2 separate regions of the Homo sapiens genome follow, and region 2 is linked to region 1. Evidence: promoter capture Hi-C in human tissues and cell types (Jung and others, 2019). All regions are on one chromosome and are shown on one strand. Each heading gives the region's core, a stretch centred on a gene start or on the middle of the fragment in contact. The rest is flanking DNA. Distances are from core to core; before and after follow the strand shown. Region 1 holds the start of SGK3 (serum/glucocorticoid regulated kinase family member 3). Region 2 holds the start of TRY-GTA5-1 (tRNA-Tyr (anticodon GTA) 5-1).

Region 1 (4,186 bases), core at 575-3,074:
TCTCAGATTGTAAAGGCAAAATGCCTAACATGTTGTCTGTTGATCAAATGAACCCAGCCTGGGCAACACAGTGAGACCGTCTCGTCTCAAAAAAAAAAAGAAAATACATAAAATGTTTGTGGGAGGTGATCTCTGTGTGTGTGTGTGTGTGTGTGTGTGTGTGTGTGTGTGTGTGTGTTCTTCACAATAGGACAAATTTATCTAGAAATGTAATGGTTCCCAGATGTTTATTTTTTTAAAAAGTCAAGATGTGGTGATAGCCAGGTATTTGTCTCTAAAGTGAGAATGATGTTATTCCACTTGGAGTTTATTGACACAGAACTTCCTTTTGTCTGAGAAATCTTCAGCACTGTGAATATGGCTTTAATTAAGAGATACACTCATCACTTGTTGATTTTGTTACAAGGGAAGAACTCCTCTAATGTATGTGGATTGCTTTGTGGACCACAGTAAAACATATAAAGGACCACCGGCAATGTATTGTTTTGTATCTACTGCATTCTTATATTCATTTCTGAAAACTACTGTTTAGAAAGTTCTGTAGGATTACTGAAGTACAAAAAGTATTTGGATTCACAATCCACTTTTTAAAGAGAGGCCACATTGTGGTTATTGACATTAAAAATGAATGTCCTAACCCATACTTGTGGGGCTAAATCTTTGAATATCATTTTAAAACATGAGGAAATGTCTTCTGAATTTAGGGAAGTCACACATAGATCCCAGTTCCTCTAATAACCTTTGGCAGTTTATTTGTTCATAGATTTGTGGCAAATTCTCTGGAATCATATGATCTAAAGTACAAATCATTGTCTCAAAATCTAAGGCATGATATGCACATGGGAATCTTTAAGTACTTGTCTGAGTCTATCTTCAAGTGATATCTGATAAGACCTAAATTACAGTAGTGTTGTGGGACGAAGAAAACAACCCACTCTACTTCAAAATCTTAACCACTTGACTCCACATCCATTGAACCATGTAATTCTTAGTTCTCCACTCAGCTTCTCTATCTGTTAAAAGAGATAAACAGATCTAAAACGCAGCTTCTGTAATTCAAGAATGAGTAATAAGGAGCTGTAAAGTGTGCACTCAGCTGACTTGGAGATTAATGGGAATAAAAAAAAGAGTCAGTAGATCTAAAAAGATGTGTGGAAAGGAAATTTCTCTGCACACAGGATCTGCCAATTTGTGAAAGTTCTCGACTGTTTATAAACACAAGGGCCGTAACTCTGCTAATGACAAAAGTGGAAAACTGTCCAAATAATGCTAAATGAATCACAGTTGTTCTCAATTATTTGGATATTTAATTCACTCCTCTGAGTTTCCAGTTTACACCAAGCCAACCCCCCCAACACCACGGGCCCACCCGGGGGGTCCTGATCCCTGCACACACCAGGTCATCTCTGTTGGGCCCCGGCGCTCTGGCCCGCGCCGGTCTTGGGCCCCAGGGTAGCGGCCACTGCGGGCGGAGCAGAGGGAAACACCAGAGTCTGTGACTCCAGACAGGACCCACTGTGTCCTCTTGAACTTTGCACAGCGCGTGACGGGGGCAGACGGTGCACCGTGGCCCGGCCTTTCGCGGGGGTCCTCGGGGAAGAGAGAGGAGCGCGGGTTTCCTCGGAGGCCTGAGCGGGACGCAGCCTGCAGCCCCTCCCCGCACGGGCTGCCCCCGGCCCGCCGCTCGCGCCGCTCTGCTGGGATCCGGCGCCTTCCCCGGCTGTCCTCGGCCTCCCGCGCGCTCCGCGGGAGGAGCCGCCAGCGGCCGTGACGCGTCAAGGAGGAAACGCCGGCGCCCGGCGGCCCTGCCGGGAAGGAGGAAGCGCAGTGCGTTCGGCTCCGCGCCCGCCGCGCCGGGAGCAGCACCGCGGGGCCAGGTAGGTGCGGGGCCGGCGGGAGGGTCCGCGCGCCCGGGACTCCGACGGCGGCCCGGGGCGGGAGGAGACGGGGCGGGGCGAGGGCTGCCCGGGCCTCGGCCGCTGCCTGTCCTCGGAAAAAGCCGTACCTCCGCCCAGCCCCCGGCTCCCGGAGAGTTTGTGGTCTTTGTTTCCACGAGGTGAATTCAGATCCTGCCTCGAGATTCCTAAACGCCCAAGGGGCGTCGGTGGCTGGACCTTGTTAACCCCCACGCAGCCGCCGAGCCTGGAGGAACTGGGAACGCCGAGCAGGGAGACCCTATCTGAGGTCGAAAGTGGGTGCAGGTCACCTGCGAGGGTCGGGGAGGGGGCAGCCGCCAGAGTGGGGTGGATGGAATCGTTTAACCTGTTGTCAGCGGATCTGTAGTAAAAGACCTTAATACGTTGCGTCTTTTAAGTTCTCTGTAATTTGAACCCTTACGTCTCTTCAAGTGAATCTGGCCCTATTAATTCTCACAGTTTTAGCTTTGGAATGTACCCACAAGAAGTGCTTTGAGATTTTTAGATTCTGTCATTTTTAGTCATCGTTACTTGGAAAGAGAAAAGAGAAAGGAATCATCTCTTGAAACTTAAAACGCTTTCATTGAGTTGTGCACAGTGACTTCTGAACCATGAGTAGAATTTCAGTCCTGCACCAGAGACTACTTAGTGTGCACTTGGGTGCAAAATAAATACAGAGCACTGTAATTTCTAAATCTTTTGTCAAAGTGAAAAATAGACTGTTGTGTATTTTGATTCTCTCCCTTCTCACCAGATTGAGACTTCACCCAGCCAATCTGGGAGGTGCCTTTTTTTATTTACCAAACACTTACATAGCCCTTACTATGCGCTGGGCTCTTTCTAAGTTCTTTATAAATATTAAATCAAATTCTTAACTTATCATATTATAGCGGTTCTAGCAATGAAGAGGCTATCCATACTTTAGTTCCCCAAATGTCATTGGAAGAGCTGTAAACATTAGAGGAAGTTTTAGGCATGTTTTAGCACCGGGTGTGCCTTCTGGTCCCCTTGGCTACCACTTCTGTAAGACAAGCCACCACCCCAGCATTTCCCTGGGGTAAGGGAGCCTGGAGCTCCTGGGAATGCGACCTGTTCAAAGCAGATGTTGGCCAGAACCTGAATGACTTGTGTAACATGGTCTCTTTCAACTGCCGTTGTGCCCATCGGCTAACTCTGGAGACACCAGAACTTCCCCTTCTTTAACTGCCACTGCATGGAGCCTACTTTTGTTTTTGAAAAGAGCTTTGTTCCTGATCTGTTCGACACTGTTTATATGACATTATTTATATGACATAGTTTAGATATGAGGGTCAGATTGAACTTGAAATGTACTATAAAATAGAACATTTTTGTTTGCACACATCAACATAACAAATAACGTTTTGTAATTTTACTGCTATTTGCTCTTGGAAACATTGAATTGGTAGGTCAGCCTCATAGGTGTACCTTTTGTGATTTGCAGATATGCAGAGAATATTTTTTCAGAATAACATGCCCTCTTCAAATGTGCACCATTAGAGACCCAATGTGGTGACTAAGATAGACATGATTCTTGTTATTGTGACTATGAATGTAATGTCAAAATCTGCACATCAGACTAGCTTTCTGACTCCCTCACTCCCTTTCTGTGCCCCCCTCCCTTATCTCTCTCTCATATATTTAACTTTTCAGAGAGATGATTAAGTGAGCCGATAAGCCTTATTTAATAGGATTATGAAGTGTCTCTTGAAGCAAGAAGGCTCATGTTCCTCTGATATATTAATAATTTATGACACAACAGGCATTAGTGTCATTTGTGAATTCAGTTTAGTCGGATGACCCCTAGCATTTTCATGGCTTACAAAGTGCTTCCAGACATACTCCTTTACCTTTCAGAGAGATCTTGTATGGTTGATCTCTTAATTACTTTTTATTACCTGTTTTTACAGATGAAGAAACTGAGGCATGGAAATGTTAAAGTGCTTTAGCCTGGATTGCACAGCAGGTGAGAGGCAGAGCTTGAATGGAGGGCAGGTGTGTGGACAGTGCCTGGCACGTGCAGGCCTGTAATAAACATCTGTGGAATGAATGACTCCAAATGGCTTCAGATATCTTGCTCTTTCAAAACATGTCTCTCAAAATACCGTAGTAATTGATTTATGCCTGAGAGATTTCCAGGCCTAATCCAATGCCTCTCTCATTTCAGACAGTATCTAATACAGCACATTTTCTACAAAAAGGATGGGAATCCCTTTGGACTTATTTCTTAAGATTTGCCACCTCTGGTTTTT
Region 2 (4,186 bases), core at 1,090-3,589, 600 kb before region 1:
CCTCTGTGCTGCTGCCTCTGTGCGTGGAGTCTCTTGTGAGCTCCATGGGGAGAATGGTTTTGTCTCTGCTAGCTTACAGAATGTGCATTTGGAGCTGTGTTTTTCTCCATTATAATCTCATTTGATTTTCACCTTGTAGAAGTTATTTAAAATCTCTATTTGTTACTTATACCTACTGTAGTTTTCCATGTTGCAATAGATTTTTTTTCTTTTGTGTATTTTTATCATCTTTTCAATGTACTCCTGGGGAGGAAGGGGTATAGTCGTATGCGCCCAACCTTCATACATGTAATCCTGATCCCTGGACACAGTGGGTGAGCACCTAAGTGAGGCCAAGAATAATGGAGAGTTTTGCAGTCAGGCCTGAGAAAGAGAAGTGACTCTCTGTGTGATAGACTGTGAAGAATAAAGCTCCAGAACTTTTAGGGTGGGGGACAGCACCATGTTTCCAACTGTGTGCACTAGAGCAGAGCTGAGAAACACTGAGAGAGAAACCTTTAAGAAGGCCTAGTTACATTTCATCTCTGCTTTCCTGGGGACACCCCTGTATCATTAAAATAAATGTCTTGCTTATACTAACTCTTGTGAATTTCTGTCACTTACAAGTAAGAAGGCCAAAAATCACACGTTTGGCCTCCCTGAAACCTATTACTCAAGTAAGGTTGGCTGTTGGGGAAGAGGGCTTGGCTAGGTATGGTAGCTCGTGCCTTAATCCCAGCACTTTGGGAGGCTGAGGCGGGAAGATCACTTGAAGCCAGGAGTTCAAGACCAGCCTGGGCAACAAAGCCAGAGCCAGGTGAGGTGGCACATGCCTGTAATTCCAGGAGGCTGAGGCAGGAGAAGCACTTGAGCTCAGAAGTTTGAGGCTGCAGTGAGCTATGATGGCATCACTGCACCCCAACCTGGGTAACAAAGCAAGACTCTGTTTCTAAAAAATAATGAAAATAATAATTTAATAAACACCCTGCTCGCCACCTTTGTAAAATAAGGAGAAGGTAGGACTAAAAGGAGGCACTTTTCTCTTAGCCTGATTTTCATGGTTCTGTCCACAAACTTGAGCCAGAGGGGTACAACTCACCTCCCCCACCTCTCAGAGGTCATTTTCTCAAACTCTCAGAAATGCTGTATAACTTTAAAGATACGTCGGCTTGTTACATGCAAAAATGGCAAAATGTTCACCAGGAAACAAAAATAATCTCATGTTTGTGCAGTCTTAAGGAAGCCGCTTTCCCACTTAAAAATCCAGCCCTTTTCTTTTCTCTAACTTCGTATTTTATCTTCCCTAATTTTACATTTTATTAAAGCTTTTACTTTTGGGAACTGCTATCTTACAGGGGAGATTTAAGAAATAATTCCAATCTCCCTTCCACAAATATTACTATAATAACATTAAAATAGAAACTCAGTTTGCCCAAACCAACATGATGCCTTCTTGGTTAAAAGATCTCTAAGGGCAAAACCCAGGTCGTTGGATGGTTTTTACGCTACGCTAACAACTGAGTGGGAATATGGCAGCAAACCTTAACAATTTATAAACGCTATGACCTTACAAAAATAGGCCGACGAAGCAGGATTATAAGCCTATCTGGGATTGAATAACTTTTTAAAATTAAACATAAAATAGGAACCAGATCAAAAAGACATTCTATGTGATCTTCTTCCCTCTCTTTGCTTAGCCGGGGGTTGGTGAGGGGACTTTCTCTAGGAACTTAGTGACTCTGATGTCTTAGTAGATGCGGTGGAACCAGCTCTGTCTACAGAACCCCGGGCTTCAGTGGCGTCTTCCTAACCCGGCTTGCCTGCCGGGGGCGTTCCGAGACCCTCGGGGCCTTCCCTTCACCCCGCGGGAGTTGGACCGGTGGCGCTGGTAAGGCCTCCCGGGCTCAAAGTGCAACGGACACTGCAGAAATCCAAACTGCTGGCATTCGCGGTTTGGGGACGCCAGAGGAGGTAATGATTTCTGGTTTGTTAACCTCAAGTGACAATAATGCCGAGCCAGGCAGGAGCTGGACCTACAATCTTCTGATGCGTGGTCAGACACGTTATCCCTTGCGCCACTGGCCTACCACGCTACTCCTTCAGTCGCCGTTGGATTACTGTGTGTTGAGAACACACTCGGCAACCACTTTAAAGGACAACGCAGGCTGGTAAAGGAAAAGTACGACAAGGGGGGGCGGTGGAATCGCAGGGTCTTGGCATCGCGGACCCCAGACACCTGGGTTGAGGGCCTTTCCCGGGTCAGTCAGGCTAGCGAGCCGGAGCGTTCTGTCTTTCTGCGCACGCGTAGAGCACACAGGCCGGCTCTGGGGCTCTGCGCTCCTCGGATTACGCATGCTCAGTGCAATCTTCGGTTGCCTGGACTAGCGCTCCGGTTTTTCTGTGCTGAACCTCAGGGGACGCCGACACACGTACACGTCCCTTCGATAGCTCAGCTGGTAGAGCGGAGGACTGTAGCTACTTCCTCAGCAGGAGACATCCTTAGGTCGCTGGTTCGATTCCGGCTCGAAGGAGACAAGTGCGGTTTTTTTCTCCAGCTCCCGATGACTTATGGCACTTTCCTTGGGTGCCTTCAGTGACACATTGCATTCCAACGAGCAGTTTGAAAGTCTAGCGCTTTCTCCCCATTTTGGGCCTCCCAGCCTGCACGGTAATTCTTTTTAGCCATTCGCCCTGCGGGAACGTGTCCGGGCAGGTTCCCAGCGCAGCTGTGGGTCTGCGCTTGGCCGAGCGACTGCCGGGTCACGACTTCTGCGTCTTCTTAACCCGTCTTTGGCATTGCCCGGGCCCCGAGTCACACAGGAGGCAGCGCCGGCTCCAGGGGGCCAGGCGGGGACCTTCTCCTCAGAGCCCCGGGCAGCTTCTGCGACCCGAGGGCTCGCAACGGCTGCCGTGAGGAGGTGGGGGGTCCGCGGGAAGAGGTATCTGGCGCTCCCGGAACCTGGGAATCAGAAAGAGAGAACACAATACTAAAAACACGAAGCCTAAAAATGACACAATGTTATGGAGACAAGGCGGCACCCGGGAAGCTGTGCCCGCTCCCTTCGATAGCTCAGCTGGTAGAGCGGAGGACTGTAGGCGCGCGCCCGTGGCCATCCTTAGGTCGCTGGTTCGATTCCGGCTCGAAGGAGAGACACCCCCCCCCCCATTATTTTGTTGCTTTGAACCAAAAAAGTCTGTCTTCAGCGCTCAATGTTCTGACCCTTCTCTAAAGGAACAGATAATAAGCCGTGCCCAGCCGTGGGGGATTAGCTCAAATGGTAGAGCGCTCGCTTAGCATGCGAGAGGTAGCGGGATCGATGCCCGCATCCTCCAGTTTTCCTTCCTGTCCCGTACGGTTTTTCTTTCGATTCTCAGCCCAAACTAGAGCTGAAAAGTCAGACGAAGTCAGGTGAAGAGTAGGGCGAGCTCCAGCTTACCACTCTAAAACTTCCCAGACAATGAGTGGTGGGCGCTAGCAGTTTATCCTTCTAGCTTTAAATTTTTAGACCCATTTAATTGGGGGGAAATTCACGAAACTGGTTATTTTTGCTTCAAAAATGGCGACAGATTGCCGTCACATGTATTATCACTCAGAATCCTTTATGATTTGTGATAAGATGTCTGCATTTCCAGGGACTCATCTGAGGCTAAGCTGCCCATAGTTCGGGGAGACCCACAGGGAAAACAAAACAAGAAACAGAGAACTTGGAAACGGACGCTGATTACTTTGAACGTTTGCTCAACCGAGGAAGCAGGAACTGTTCGGCCCCATCTCAAGTCCGCAGGGCGGACTGCCTGGCTCTGGGCAGATCCGAGGTGGATAGGACAAGGCAAAAGGTAGCCCTGGAGAGGTGAGTGGATAAAGTCCCTGGACACAGGGGCTGCCGTTGGAGGAGGTTGTAATGTCATTGTCCTCCTGTGGAAGTTAACTGTGGAGAATTAACTAGAGACCAGCGCTGAGAGAGAATTAATTGGATAAAAGTTCTATCTAGGACAGTCCTTGAGCGTAATTTTGTGAAGCAAACACAAGACAACAACAAAACGAGTAAAACCTAAACACACATCCACACACTCACTGAAAGATTCAGAGATTGCACAGAACACAAAGACTTTTCTGGTAATAAAATCTCCCTATCCTAATTTTCTAGAAAAAAAGCTGTTGAAGCCACCGCGCAGTTCTTACAAGACATAACACAAATCTTCCACA

The links. Contacts are between HindIII fragments. The study calls those that stand out against the background at their distance.
Region 2: a contact is called between a fragment that was not itself captured here and the fragment with the promoter of SGK3 in region 1, in 1 of the 25 tissues and cell types used here (mesenchymal stem cells).

Annotation. Positions count from the first base shown.
Region 1 is chr8:66,710,957-66,715,142 of GRCh38, forward strand. It overlaps SGK3 (serum/glucocorticoid regulated kinase family member 3), which reads left to right and starts at 1,825. Exons shown (of 17, transcript NM_001033578.3): 1 at 1,825-1,877. All of the region lies in intron 3 of C8orf44-SGK3 (C8orf44-SGK3 readthrough), which reads left to right. RefSeq lists a silencer at 1,534-2,003. The HindIII fragment of the contact is 13,282 bases long and covers 1-4,186 here.
Region 2 is chr8:66,110,950-66,115,135 of GRCh38, forward strand. TRY-GTA5-1 (tRNA-Tyr (anticodon GTA) 5-1) reads left to right here and starts at 2,418; the gene lies at 2,418-2,510. It overlaps TRY-GTA5-2 (tRNA-Tyr (anticodon GTA) 5-2), which reads left to right and starts at 3,039; the gene lies at 3,039-3,127. It overlaps TRA-AGC8-2 (tRNA-Ala (anticodon AGC) 8-2), which reads left to right and starts at 3,240; the gene lies at 3,240-3,312. It also overlaps a transcript of TRIM55 not described here. RefSeq lists enhancers at 1,724-1,773, 1,844-1,923, 2,089-2,740, 2,464-3,003, 2,741-3,393 and a silencer at 2,304-2,353. The HindIII fragment of the contact is 8,750 bases long and covers 1-4,186 here.